Regions from separate parts of the Homo sapiens genome. Here regions 1 and 3 are each linked to region 2. Evidence: promoter capture Hi-C in 16 types of primary human blood cells and fetal thymus (Javierre and others, 2016). All regions are on one chromosome and are shown on one strand. Each heading gives the region's core, a stretch centred on a gene start or on the middle of the fragment in contact. The rest is flanking DNA. Distances are from core to core; before and after follow the strand shown. Region 1 has its middle 36 kb from the start of LUZP4. Region 2 holds the start of PLS3 (plastin 3). Region 3 holds the start of LOC107985681 (a long non-coding RNA gene).

Region 1 (4,674 bases), core at 2,150-4,649, 230 kb before region 2:
TTAAAAGCCTAGTGTATTAGTTTTCTATTGCTGCCAGATTACCACAGGCCAGGTGGGGTGGCTCACGCCTGTAATCCCAGCACTTTGGGAGGATGAGGTGGGTGGATCACTTGAGGTCAGGAATTCAAGACCAGCCTGGCCAACATGGTGAAACCCCGTGTCTACCAAAAAATACACAAATTAGCTAGGTGTGGTGGTGTGCACCCATAGACCCAGCTACTCAGGAGTCTGAGGTGGGAGAATCACTTGAACCTTAGAGGCGGAGGTTGCAGTGAGCTGAGATCATGCCACTGCACTCCAGCCTGGGCAACAGAGACCCTGTCTCAAAAACAAAACAAAGCAAAACAAAAATTACCACAAAAAGCAGCTTAAAATAGCACCCATTCATTATCTCGCAGTTCTATAGGTCAGATGTCCAGGCATGCTTGGCTAGTTCTCTCCCTAGGGTTCCATAGAGCTGAAATTGTCACCTGAAAGGGGTCCCGATCCAGATCCCAAGACAGGGTTCTTGGATCTCATGCAAGAAAGAATTCAAGGCAAATTCATAAAGTGAAAGCAAGTTTATTAAGAAAGTAAAGGAATAAAGAATGGCTACTCCATAGGCAGGGCAGACCTGAGGGCTGCTGGTTGCCCATTATTATGGTTATTTTTTGATTATATGCCAAAGAATGGGTGGATTATTCATCCCTCCCCTTTTAAGACCATATAGGGTATTTCTTGATGTTGCCATGGCATTTGTAAACTGTCATGGATCTGGTGGGAGTGTAGAAGTAAGGATGACTACAGGTCACTCTTGTCACCATCTTGGTTTTGGTGGGTTTTGGCCAGCTGCTTTACTGTAAACTGTTTTATCAGCAAGGTCTTTTTGATCTGTATCTTGTGCCAACCTCCTATCTCACCCTGTGACTTAGAATGCCTAACCATCTGGGAATGCAGCCAGGTAGGTCTCAGCCTTATTTTACCCAGCCCCTATTCAAGATGATTCAAACGCCTCTGACAAAATCAAGATGCTAGCCAGGCTGCCCTCTAACTTGGAAGTTCTGGGGAAAAATCTGCTTCCAAGCTCCTTCTAGTTGTTGGCAGATTTCAGTTGCTTGGGATTGTGAGAATGAGGTTCCCGTTTCCTTGCTGGCTGTCAGCCAGCGGCACTCTGCTTCTAGAGGCAGCTTGAATTCCCTCCATCTTTAAACCAGCAAAAGAAGGTTATGTCCTTCTCACTCTTTGAATCATTCTGACTTATTCTTTTGCTCCCTTTTGCTTTTATCATATGATTAGATTAGGCCAACCCAGATGTATGTTGTTAAAGAAAATAAAGAAAAAGCGAAATTACAACTGAAAAACAATTAGGAAACTAATTACTCAGAGCATTCTCTCCCTTTTCCCCAAAATAAACAGTTTTTGGTCCAGTTGGGTCATGGTAGGAAAAACATTTATAACCAGACTAAAAAAAAAAAACTGAGAAAAAAATACCTGATTTATTTGGACTACTAAGTACAGCAACTCAACTGACAATGTCAGAATCACCACACAGCATTTGGGCTTTTGTTGTATTTTACCTCTAACAGAATGTGACTACATGTGATAAACATATTCCCTTGAAATATCTAACTACCCATTAAAAAAAAGTCTTCAGCCAGGTCCTATGGCTCATGCCTGTAATCCCAACACTTTGGGATCCCAAGGTGGGCTGATTGCTCGTGCCCAGGAGTTTGAGACCAGCTGAGTAACATGGTCAAATCCCGTCTCTACTAAAAATACAAAACATTAGCGGGCTGTGGTGACGTGTGCCTGTAGTCCCAGCTACTTGGGAGGCTGAGGTGGGAGAATCAACTGAGCCAGGGAAGGTGAGAATGCAATGAGCTATGATACTGGAATGAGACCTTGTCTTAATGTCTCAAAAAAAAAAAAAAGAATGAAAAGAAAATAAAACTCTTCTGTACTGTTTATTTATGTGAAGAGCTGTTTTAGTAAGACAAAGTAAGAACCAGGCCCCACTAGCAGCCTTTCAGGAGTCCTCGTGTAGAACATGCCTCTACAATGTGGCAGAAGGAAATTTTGGATAACTGAGCTGCTTTTCATATTAACTGCTATGTAGCCATGTGCTCCAGCTACTTTTTTGGTAACAAGTTTATTGAGATATAATTCTTATACTATAAGGTTCGCCACGTTAAAGTATACGGTTCAGTTAGTATATTAACAGAGTGTGCAACCAATACTATAGTCTAATTTTAGAACATTTTTAATGTCCCCCAAAGAAACTCTGTACCCATTAATAGTCACTCCCCCTTTCCCTCCTTTCCCCCCCTTCTCACAGCCCAAGGCAACCATGAATCCATTTTTTTTCTCTATATGAAGGCTGTAGCTACTTTTGTTCCAAAATGCATATAGGGATAACTATACTTTAAAAATAGTGAGATTGATTTGGCATTTAAACAGTAGAATCTGGGCAGGGTGGCTCACACCTATTATCCCAGCACTGTGGGAGGCCAAGATAGGCTGATCACTTGAGCCCAGGAGTTCGAGTCCAGCCTGGGCAACAGAGTGAGACCCCCGTCTCTACAAACAAAGATACAAAAAATTAGCTGGGTGTGGTGGCAGGTACTGTAGTACCAGCTACTTGGGAGGCTGAGGTGGGAGGATCACCTGAGCCCAGGAAGAAGAAGAAATTTTTTAAAATAAACAGTAGAAAAACTCATCTAGGGATTTTGAAGTAACAATATAAAAAAGACTAGATTAATGCATGCATGCAATTTTTAAAAAAGATAAACGGTAGAAAAACTCACCTAGATATTTTGATGTAATGATTAAAAAAAGACTAGATTAATGCATGTTTACAATCCTTCTGAATGCTGCACTAATACTCCCTGATTCAGAACTTGGAACCTAACTACTAAAAAGGGAGCTTGAAGATTCTTGGATATACCTTCTTCATTTTACAGCTGGTGTTAATGAGACTTACATGAAGTTGAATGGCCCAAAGTTGCTCATCTAATTAGTGGCTGACAAATATATCTTTACTAATTATTATGCTTAAGTGACACAAATGTGAGATATAGGGTTAAAACTTTACTCCTAAGGACAAAATATACTACAACCAAGAGTTTTCTGCACCAGCCCAGAGGAATATACTTGAAATTCAACTTTCAAGCAATGGATAATCACGTGAGTGTAATAGAATTGCACAATAAGCTTGTTCACGTGATATTAAAGAATTCATGTCTGTTTTAGGACTACTTGATGTATAAAAAGGTATCTTTTATGTATCAGAAAAAAATGCAGTTAACTAGATTCTACCTGGAGCCCTTAATTCACAAAGAGTCTCTTCCTGTACTGCACCTTCATGAAGGATACAAAGGTCAAAGAAATAAGCCAACTTCAATTATTTATTTTTAAAACGAACTTCAAGTTGAACGTGGATTTAGTCCAATATACTATATTTGTCCCTCGGTATCTGTGGGGGATTAACTCCAGGACCCCAGTGGATACCAAAACCATGGGTCCTCAGGTCCCTGATATGAAATAACATAGTAATTGCATATAAGCTATACACATCTTCTTGTATACTTTTTTTTTTTTGAGACGTGGTCTCACTCTGTTGCCCAATGTGCATGAAGCTTCCTAATGTAATTTGTGGCAAATGATTTGGAGAGAGAATGTTTCTTCATATCACAAAAATAATACAGGTTAATTGCAGAAATTTTTCAAAATACAAAATACCAAAAATTATCACACACACACACACACGCACACACACACACACACACACACACACATGCAAACTTGTAATAGCTACGTCCGTATTTATTTTACTGCCACTAAGCCTTCTTCCACAGTAAAGCTTTCTACACTATTTATCCAGTTCCCCATTGCTGGATAGTTAGGCCGTTTTCAGTTTAAGTTTTTGTAAATTATGCTTGTGGTGAGTTTTCGTGTACTTATATATTTGCAGTACCTCTTCAATTCATTACATATGATAATTTTCCAGAAGTAAAATTGCTGGATCAAATAGTACATATTTGGAATGCTACAAAGAAGTTGCTGTACAGAAAGGTTGTACCATTTGACATCCCCACTACCAGAATACTAAAAGGCTTGTTTTCTCATAATCTCATTTACAAAGAATATGGGATGGATACATTGCTTTCAATGTCTTGCTTGCTAATGGGTAATTAGGGTAAGGAGCAACAGTATGGCCAGGCGCAGTGACTCATACCTATAATCCCAGCACTTTGGGAGGCCAAGGCATGTAGATTGCTGGAGCCCAGGAGTTCCAGACCAGCCCGGGCAACATGGAGAAACCCTGTCTCTACAGAAATAATAGCCAAGTGGGGCGGTGTGCACCTGCAATCCCAGCTACTCGGGAGGCTGAAGTGAGAGAATCATCTGAGCCTGGAAGGTGGAGGCTGCAGTGAGTGGCGCCACTGCACTCCAGTCTGGGCGACAGAGCGAGAAACTGTCTCAAAAAAAAAAAAAAAAAAGCAAGAAGAAAAAGCAACAGCATAAGGCAATGAGCCCAGCAATATTTCCCAAGCTTCAAATGGTTTTTCCCCCATATGAAACAGCAGCTATATAAGTCACAAACCTCTCCCTCTCTGCCTTGAATAACATCAGAAGTACAACATTGTCATAACAATCAGTTGGACAATGCCGAGAGATGTGCAGTCTAGCTGTTTG
Region 2 (4,514 bases), core at 344-2,843:
CCATAAAAGGTAGAAAACTGAAAAAGCCTATTTCCTGTATCTAAAAATTTTTTGTAAAGAATTCCAGAAGTCACACCAAACCTTTGGCCAATTACTGAATGCTAGAAATCTCATTTGGGAGCTTACTGTAAATGTGTGTGGCAATGCACTGGCTCCATGTTCAATCCAACGCCAACATGTTGAAATCAGTATTTTTGTGCTGGCCCAAACCTGAACCAGTAGAAAATCTCCCATAACAGAAATTCAATGTTTGTGAAAGCATGATTGCCCTCCCATTTCTTTTTCACCTTCCTGTGCCTTTCATAAGTTCTTCCAGTTGGTTAATCATTAATTAATATTTAACAAGGCTTTTTCCTCGTGCCAAGTCCTCTGCTAGTCTAGCCTTTAGGCAATATATGAACTCCCCAAGTTCTTCCCTTTTAAGAAGCCTTGGCACTCACTACGGATTAATTTCTCTAAGGAAATTCATAATGGCAGATGAAATAGGGGTTCCTTTTCAAGAACATTCCATTTTAAAGCCTCTCAGCATTTTTTCCTGGTACATGTAAAATGCGACTTAATTGAACTAATTTTAAATGTTGACAGAACTTTCCAAGCACACATTTCCTCAACAAAATGGTTACGACTGGAACAGGAAAGGGCTTAGACTTTTTCTTCTACAGCTATCCCACAAGTCAGTCTCTTGACCTGACCCTGCAAAATCCCTCAAACTCTGGCTCTCTGAGTTGATTTTGGATATACGATGAACCATAGGTTTGGAATGCAGATAACCTCCACGTGTATTAATGAAAGAGGTCAGCTATGACGTGGAAGCCATCTCCTGGGCAGAGAAGGAGAAGAAATGGCAGTCTGGGGAGTAGTAACATGTCTCCAAATTTTCTCTGGTGAAAGGAGACTGATGAGAATTGATACCCATTTCCGGTCAAAAGAGTGGAACCAATGTACTTCCAACCACCTCCTCTCAACCCCTCTCCGCATGGACAAACATACCAGACAGGTGATGTGGGCTAACAATTTACTTGGCATGAGGCCAAAGGCTTGAGGGCCCTGCCCTGCCCATATTCTTCTCCCTTGACTTCTTAAGGAAAGGAATGATTGCTGATGTTTCCCTCTGCACCCTTTGGCACCTGGACTGATTGTTGCAGATGTAATTAGGAATGTTCCCCAACATGCCGTTATTCTTCTCACGATTCTGGGAGAAACTGTACCCCTCCCCCATAGACTTATATAGGTGGCATTCAAATTCTTGTTCCCAACTTTTTCATCTTTTTATTAATCCCACAAGATTGTGTGAATGTGTACTCCGAGCCAGGCACGTTGGACTTCTAACTTCCTCTTAGCCCAAGTAGGAAGGGGAGACTCAGGCGCTGGGGACCATTCTCCTCTCCCTGCAGCAGAGTTGCAGTCCCTATCCCTCCTGGGTGCCCATCCCCGTGCCTATTTTCCTGGATCCCCACCCAGTTGATGTGACAGGCTCGTGGCCCAATCCCCTTCCTGGTTCCCAGGCCGACTGCTAGCACCACCCGAGCCAATGGCGGCGGCCGAGGGGCGGAGGGGGCTGGCAGGAGGGGAGGGAGCGCTGGCTTTAGAGCCACAGCTGCAAAGATTCCGAGGTGCAGAAGTTGTCTGAGTGGGTTGGTCGGCGGCAGTCGGGCCAGACCCAGGACTCTGCGACTTTACGTAAGTGCTTTGTAGGCGCCGGCGGGCACTAGGGGAGCGGGTTTCCTGGGCGTGGGCAGGAGTGGGTCCCGGGGAGAGCATCTCGGTTAAGCTCAGCAGGAACGTGCGGCGCACCGTGGGGCGGGGGTTGGGGGAGAGGGAGGTCGGAGAAATTTCAGTTGGAGCCCTCGGGCGCCCGGGCGATCGGTCGCAACCGAAATGGGTGTGAGTGACGGGGAGTTTCCCTACTAGCATCCGCCGCAGACACGTTTTCTGCACTTCACTGTATTAAGTGGTGTTTTCTTACTAGTTGCTCTTAACTTGTTGCCAGTCTTGGGCTGGAGTCCTAGACGCCAGCCCTTGCCCTGATTCCCCTCCGCGGCTGCGGCCCCGAAGTGGAAAGGGAGCGCACAACTTCCCTCTGTCGTCCTTCTCCAGCTACTGCCATCCCCTCTTCCCTCCCGCCCGGACTCAGGAAATCCCGGAGCCAGCAGCCTGCTACTCCTCCAGCCCCCACACGCCCGCCTCGGGTGACCTGGCTGGCTTAAGCCGACCCTGGGGCTCTGGAGAGGGGGGGCCGTGGCCGAGGGAAGGCACGAGGTTTGGGTTGCCTGCCTTCTGCCTGCTTCCCTCCCTTGTCCTTAGCGAGGGCGTCGCGAACGCACCTAGTCTCCCTATGAGTAAGCACTTTTTTTCCTTTCAGTAGGAGAACATCTCTGGGCTAGTAGGACAGTACCTTTCCGTTCTCCCCTGGCCCCACACCCCCTGTCCTTTTTTCAGCTCCTTTGACTTTGCGGCCCCGGGCGCGCGGTCGGGGCGGCGGCAGTCCCGGACCTCTCCCGACTCTTGGAGAGGGAGAGGCAAAGGGGCGACGGGAGGGAGGTAATAGTCTACCCCCCCGCCCTTTCCCCGCACAGCTGCACTTGCCTGTGTTTACTTTTCTCCACCCGCAGTACTTAAGCGCTGTAATGAGAGGCCCGGGGACGCCGACCACCCCCGCCCTGGCTTCTCGCCAGTCCCAAAGTTGCTGCCGCCGTCGCTGCTCCAGTGTGCTGGCGGTTCCGACCGCCGGGCTCCGGGACGTAAGATGATCCCAGCCCGGGAGGTGGAGTGGGGGTTAATGGCATCTGACTCTAGCCTTATGCGATGCTCCTTGCCTCTCACCTGAGCTGCACGATATCCCCAGTGGTGCAGAAGGTTGAACTTTTGCAGAAGGTTGAGCTTGGAGCTAAGTGGGTTGGAGAGCCTCGCCATTTAGCGTCAGACAGACGGGATGCTGGGGGCGCCCGGCCTGTTAAGAGGGATTGGGAGGAGGGAAGGGAGCCTGGCTAACAGTAGGTAGAAAATGTAGGGAAAAGTAAAAACCATTGAGGGGCAAGCACTTACTCCACTTTGCTGGATGTCACAATGGACTGGGGAGCCTAAACTTGATCCTCGAGATGCAGTTCATGGTGAATTCCAACTAAGTGGCTGGAGCCCCACACATACCAGTTGGAATCACGTGCCCCAAGTCTCTGATGGTCACATGACGTCTTTTTACTTTAAAGCTGGAATGTAATGGTTGAGGCCCATATTCCAAAAACCACCTCTACGTTTGAAAAAAAAAAAGGTGGGGAGGAGTGTGAACTAGCTTCTAATCAAGGAAGTCTACTAGGATTTTGGATGAGGGGACCAGAAAGGGAATTTGGTGCTCAGCTTTTATCCAAAACAAAAACAGGAGCTGTTTTTAAAATAAGGGATTGAAATATATGTGAGCTGGGACATGTATCTCCTCTCTTCTTCAATCTCATGGTTTTTCTAAATTTAAAAAACATCTTACTAATTATTTTCTAGGGAAGTCATCCTATTACTCATGCCTCATTTTGTCCCTGAATACTAGATTTGAAGCTAAATCCCACAAGATAGTGTTAAAAAGTAAGGCTCTGTTCATCTTCCTTGGTCTGGCCTATATTCTAATTGAACTGTTCCCTATTTTAGGCAACTACTTAAAGGTAGTAAATAACCTCTTGACTAAAATTAACCACCAGTTATTTGTGGTTTTCAATTAACTGGATTAGAAATCATGCACAAAAACAGTGGATAGTAAATTTGATACATCGAGTTGGTTGGGTTTTTGCCTGTCAGTGGTTTGGTAGAATAATGAGAGGACACTGAAACAACTTTCCCATATTGACCTATACCCGCCCAAGTGGCCCAAGTTAAGGTTGCTTCTGGGAAAACGTGGCAATTTGGCTATTCAGATTATATATTACAGAGTATAGAAGAGAGGCAGAGGAGCCTCTGAGGTCAGGAGTTTAAAAGCTTTGCTTATCTGAAAAAAAAAGAAAAAACGGACCTGGTTGATGCATATTCAGTCTTGAAAACAACTAGGGCAGAAGATATTTAAGAGATTCTGACTTTGTATTCTTTTGCCAAAAACCCTTTGTCTCCTGCAGCAGCCTCTGAATGACCGGAGCACTCCAGTTTCTTGCTGTTCATCCGTTTCTGAGCCTGAAAACTAGAACAACCTTAAAGCACATTGTTCTGACCCCAAGGCTAGCCTTGTGGCACAGATGAGCTGGAAATGGATTTAAGGTGCACCTGAGTTACTAGAGTTAACTACACTGGTAGATAGACCCCTCTAGTGGAAGTGAGGTGATAATATAATTTTAGATCGAAATAATAAATGTTTAACCTCAAAAAAAGGAAGTTATTACCACTCAACTAGGTTACAGTGGTAGGGGGATAAGTTCTTTTTTAAGTATTGTGAAATCATGTCTAAACAGAATCATCGCTAGGCTCTAGTCCACAGCTTTTCATTGTCTTGGGATGCCTACTCATTGAACACCACCCCCAATATTGCTGACTTTTTTTGG
Region 3 (4,842 bases), core at 1,550-4,049, 220 kb before region 2:
AGCAAAAGTCAAAGAACTATTGCATATCCAGCACCGAGACACTTCCAACTCCCCCTTATAAAGCTGTCGCTTTCTCACAAGACCCAACTAGTCCTTTGATCTTTGTGTACTTCTCAAGTTGAGGCAGGAATCGAGTTAAAAAATAAAAAAGGATCCCTTTTTGCTTAGAGGGAATAGGACTTTGTAGGCATTATAGAGACATTAGTGGCACTTGGGAGCTCTTCCCAAAGGGACTAGGGTCAGCCCCATCCTGACTAGGGCACCTGAAGAAAACAAGGGAAACTTTAACTTTTAAAAGAGAATTTGCAGAGTCAAAAGATTTTTGATGCATCATTGTGGAAAATTTCAGGGCTTTGTTCAGTGTTTTGTTGACTTTTTTCCTAAAATCAACATTGTCGTCAGAGAAAGTAGCAAATATGGTTACTATATGTCTGTTTACATTATCTTCTGCATTCCCAGAGAGAGGATGTTCTGACTTCTGATAACTGGGCAGAAGTCTGACAAAAAATATTTAGGTGGTAGAGGTTGTTCCATTAGGAAGATGAAAAGACCTCTTAGTTCCATTATTCTGATTTTTTTTTTTTTTTTTTTTTGAGACAGGTTCTCACTCTGTCACTTGGGCTAGGGTGCAGTAGGGGGACCTCAGCTCACTGCAACCTCCACCTCCCGAGCTCAATCGATCCTCCCACTTCAGCCTCGCAAGTAGCTAGGACTACAGGTGTGTGCCACCACGACCAGTTAATTTTTGTATTTTTTTTGTAGAGACAAGGTTTCACTATGTTGCCCAGGCTGATCTCGAACTCCTGGGCTCAAGCGATCCACCAGCTTCAGTCTCGCAAAGTGCTGGGATTACAGGTGTGAGCCACTGCACCTGGTCTATTCTGACTTCATGTCATTTAATTATACCACAATATAAAATCTAGACAGTATGTTGTTTCTCTAAATGGACTTCCTGACCAAGGAGATGGGGCCTGTGCAGAAAACAGGGTGTTCAGGCTTAGATTTTGGTGCAGTTCAGATTAGGAATAGTATAAGCCATTCTGAGGCTCAATCATCCATGGGTAAGTGGACTCTCAAGGTTTTGGGCCTACAGAGCTGAGAGAGAGAACACTTTACCTTCGAGAACCAATTTCTTTGTCTTCTCTCGCCCTACGTGGACAAAGTGTGACCATCCATGAAGACTCTGTCCAGATATGCCTTGCTCTATTTTACACCATTGCCAACAGGTTTCCACCACAGCCCAGCAAGCTTTGCTTTTTTACTTTGCACCCCAGATTGGTTTTTAAAATTGACTCTTGGCCTTTTGCAGTGGCTCATGCCTGTAATCCCAGCACTTTGGGAGGTCGAAGTGGGAGGATCGCTTGAGCTCAGGAGTTCAAGACCAGCCTGGGCAACATGGCGAAACTCCATCTCTACTGAAATTTAAAAATAAATTTAAAAAATAAAATAAAATAGACTCTTGGAGAACACTTCCTGGCACAATAGTCTGTTCCATATTCTGTTGCACCCAATAATTAACTCTTAATAATTGTAGTACAATGGGCTGCTATTTATAGTGACTATTAAAATATCCTTCACTGCCTTTTGCTGTTAAAATGCCTAGAACCCACTTTATAATATTTTAACATGCTTAAACAGTAATATAAAATGGCATCTGCGTATGTTTTTCCTTCTTGAAAATTAATAAAAGAGTGGTTCGCTAATGACTGTGTCTGTACAGAGCAAGACAAGGCTTCCAAAAGGGGCTAACCATCTGTGTATCTACCTTCTCAGTTCTGGTGAAGAATTCTGAGATGACGGGATGAGGACAAGAGAGTTGAGAAGAGCCTGAGAAGGGTGAAATTAATTAGATATCAGGAAATCTCTGGAAGCTCCTTTGAAACCATGCTAGAAATCAATGATATTTGCTATGGGCCAGCCACTGCATCAAAGAGAAAAGAGAGAGTTAGTGTGGACTTTGCAGAAGCACAGCCACATGAAGGGTATTCCACGCAGGGATTTACATGTGCAATTCTGTAAATTTGGGCAAAAAGTCAAGTGACGATGCTATGGAGATAAGTGCTCCAGTGACACATTAAATCACTCTCTGAGAATCTGTTGATTCGGATCTAGTTTCTTTTCGTATTCCAGAATAAAGCTAGAGCAATGCTGTCCTCTTCAATCTCAATATATGTATTGCTTGAAAAACAAGGGAGAATATGAGACCTTTTGCATGTTCACACAGCAAGTACAAGAGAAAGGGGGCAACGTGGATTTTTTCTAAATCATGTTTCCCAGCTGAGGAACAGGCTGGAGCATGAGAGGAGTACAGAGCCATTACAACCGTTTAGATGGGCTTCTCGTTTCAACAGGGTCACACTATCTTCTCCGGAAAGCCCACTTTCCATGCCAAGCAACAGGAGAGGTTTTGAAGGCCAGGGATTTGTTTCTCTTCCTTGTTACCCTTCCCACCCAGGTTGTCACACCATACAAGAGGAATAAAGAATACACTGAGAAATACTGAATAGACCAAAAGTCTGACAAATAACCAAGCATTTTCATAAAAAGAAAGAGTTTGGTAATTGTCAATTTACTCTGGTTTTGCTTCCAGTTGGTTCCCTTTTCAGCTGATTAGCGCAAGTGACTATTGAGAGCATGGAAGCATCTCAGGGTTGAAGAGACAGGAGTCCCATTTTCCACTTCCTGCCCTCTTGGGTAACTCTGCTTCCTCCTGAGCAAAGAGTTAATGAAGACATTGTTGCTTTTTTTTTTTTTTTTTTTGCAAATAAGGAAAGGCAGACACTGAATGTTTATTATTCAGTATGAACATAGAGGCAAAACTAGGAGAAAAAACAGATATGAGGTTTCCAGAACTATGGAATTTTAGGCATATTATATTATCAGTTATCATTTATTGAGTACTTACTATGGACCAGCCACTGCATTAAGCATTTTACATAGTCTATTACATAGTTTAATTTTAAATTTTTATTTATTTACTTATTAGAGTCCCACTCTCACCCAGGCTGGAGTGCAGTGGCATGAAATAATAGCTCACTGCAACCTCAAACTCCTGGGCTCAGGTAATCCCCCTGCCTCAGTCTCCCAAGCAGCTGGGAATATAGGTGTGTGCCACCACACCTGGCTAAAGTTTATTACATAGTTTATTAGTCTTGACAACAGCCCTATGACATAGGTACAATTATTATCCCCATTTTACAGATGAAGAAACTGAGGCTTACAGAGGTTAGGTAACTTTAACCAAGCCTAAACAGCTAGTAAGTGGTGGAAGTGATTCAAATCTAAGACTGTGTTACTAAAAGAGCTGTGTTCTCAATCACTCTGCCACACGGTACAAGAGAGGTGTTAGCTAGAATGCCTTCAGGGGCATAATAATAATTATAGTTAATGCTGTTGTGGAAGGCTTATTATATGGTAGACCCTATTCTAAACACTCACCTATGTCAACTTTAGGCTCTGCATCTCACACTCTATAAAGAAGGTGCTATTATTGGGCGCATTTTACAGTAAGGAAAGTGAGGCACAGAGAGGTCTTAAGTTCACGGAACTAATGAATGGTGGAGCAGGGCTACAAATTCAGGCACTCTGACTCCAAAGATCATCCTCTTAGCTGCTAAGCTATGTTAAGGTAAAATGTTCGTTTCTGTGTGAGGAAGCCCAGTCCACTTCGAGAGTCAGCTTTCTTTGTTAGAAAGTTGTGCCTGCAGCTCTAATAGACTTCTCAGAAGCAAACAGAAGGGTTCAAGAGTCCAGCTGACAGCAGAGGCTCTTGCTCAATCCTTTCCCAGAATGCTTGTCTCCATTACCCTTTAACCTGCATCTTTGAACAAATTGATATATGGGGAGTTCAGCAATGGCAGATCTCAGCTGTGCCTTTAATGTTTGATATGTCTGCTAGCACACCATGTTTTTCATTGGATCTAAAGGAGATCTAATGAGAGATCATTTCCTAGTAACACATTGTCTGCTTTCAACATCACTAGGAAAGCACTTTGCTGCAAACAATCCCTATGTTGGTTTAATTGCCTTTGAAAAGGGGCACAAGAGGGAGCATCAACTCTTCAGAGTTTGGGTCTGATTTCCTGAGGTGTTCCATTTCAGAAGAGGCCCCTGACAACAGGCAGAGAATAAAAACAAGTGTGGTCTAGGGCAGACAGTGTTTTTCAAACAGTTGGCCAAATCTCTCCTGGCAGCCGGGAAGCAGCTGAATCATCAAACACTAGGCCTCTAACGAGATGGAGGCTGGGCTGTATTGAAGTGCATTCCAGACTGACTGTGAAACCCAGAGCTGCTGCTGCTTTCCCAATGCTGGCTCCCTTCCAAGGGGCTGGCCCAGCTGAGCTGCTTGTCAAAGCTTCATTTTGTCTCTTCTCTCTCTTTTTTTCCTCCTCTTTGTGATTTCCCATGTAGCATTTGCCTGCCCTTGGATAGAATATTTGGATGAATTTTGGGGTCACCTCAGGTACAGCCTCTGCTCTGCAAGCTAAAGTTCATGAACTGTGTTTACCTGTTGGAAAGTCAGAATGGCAGAGGGGAAAGGCACTAAGCTAGAGCACTCGGGGAATGGACAAGTGGACAGACATTCTTTTCTGAGAGGCAGGAATGACCTAGACATTCCGAAATTGAAAGCCAGATGTTGGGATAAAACTCTAGACTCAATTTGAATCGTAGGAGTGTTGACAACCTTGATGAAATCCTATGACTAAAACTTTCTAGAGTAGAGGGGAATTAATGGGGCCTAAGTAGGGTAACCCACCTTGAAAATAACCAGATCCCTCTATTTATATCAGAAACAAATGTTTGGACTCTTTAAGTGCCATGGTCTGAATGTTTGTGTCTCCC

What was found. The method cuts DNA at HindIII sites, captures the fragments that hold promoters and counts their contacts. A CHiCAGO score of 5 or more calls a contact.
Region 1: a contact is called between a fragment that was not itself captured here and the fragment with the promoter of PLS3 in region 2, in 1 of 17 cell types (endothelial precursors). The highest score is 7.2, in endothelial precursors.
Region 3: a fragment that was not itself captured here is called in contact with the fragment with the promoter of PLS3 in region 2 in 1 of 17 cell types (endothelial precursors); the score reaches 9.2 in endothelial precursors.

What each region holds. Positions count from the first base shown.
Region 1 is chrX:115,323,359-115,328,032 of GRCh38, forward strand. No RefSeq gene overlaps it. Among named protein-coding and RNA genes, the nearest start is that of LUZP4, 36 kb to the left of the region's middle. The HindIII fragment of the contact is 425 bases long and covers 3,188-3,612 here.
Region 2 is chrX:115,559,581-115,564,094 of GRCh38, forward strand. It overlaps PLS3 (plastin 3), which reads left to right and starts at 1,594. Exons shown (of 16, transcript NM_005032.7): 1 at 1,594-1,680. It overlaps PLS3-AS1 (PLS3 antisense RNA 1), which reads right to left and starts at 3,151. Exons shown (of 3, transcript NR_110384.1): 1 at 3,046-3,151; 2 at 2,824-2,950. RefSeq lists an enhancer at 2,368-3,143. The HindIII fragment of the contact is 4,189 bases long and covers 1-3,958 here.
Region 3 is chrX:115,341,244-115,346,085 of GRCh38, forward strand. LOC107985681 (a long non-coding RNA gene) reads left to right here and starts at 2,265. Exons shown (of 3, transcript XR_001755944.2): 1 at 2,265-4,842. RefSeq lists an enhancer at 3,824-4,323. The HindIII fragment of the contact is 3,106 bases long and covers 1,247-4,352 here.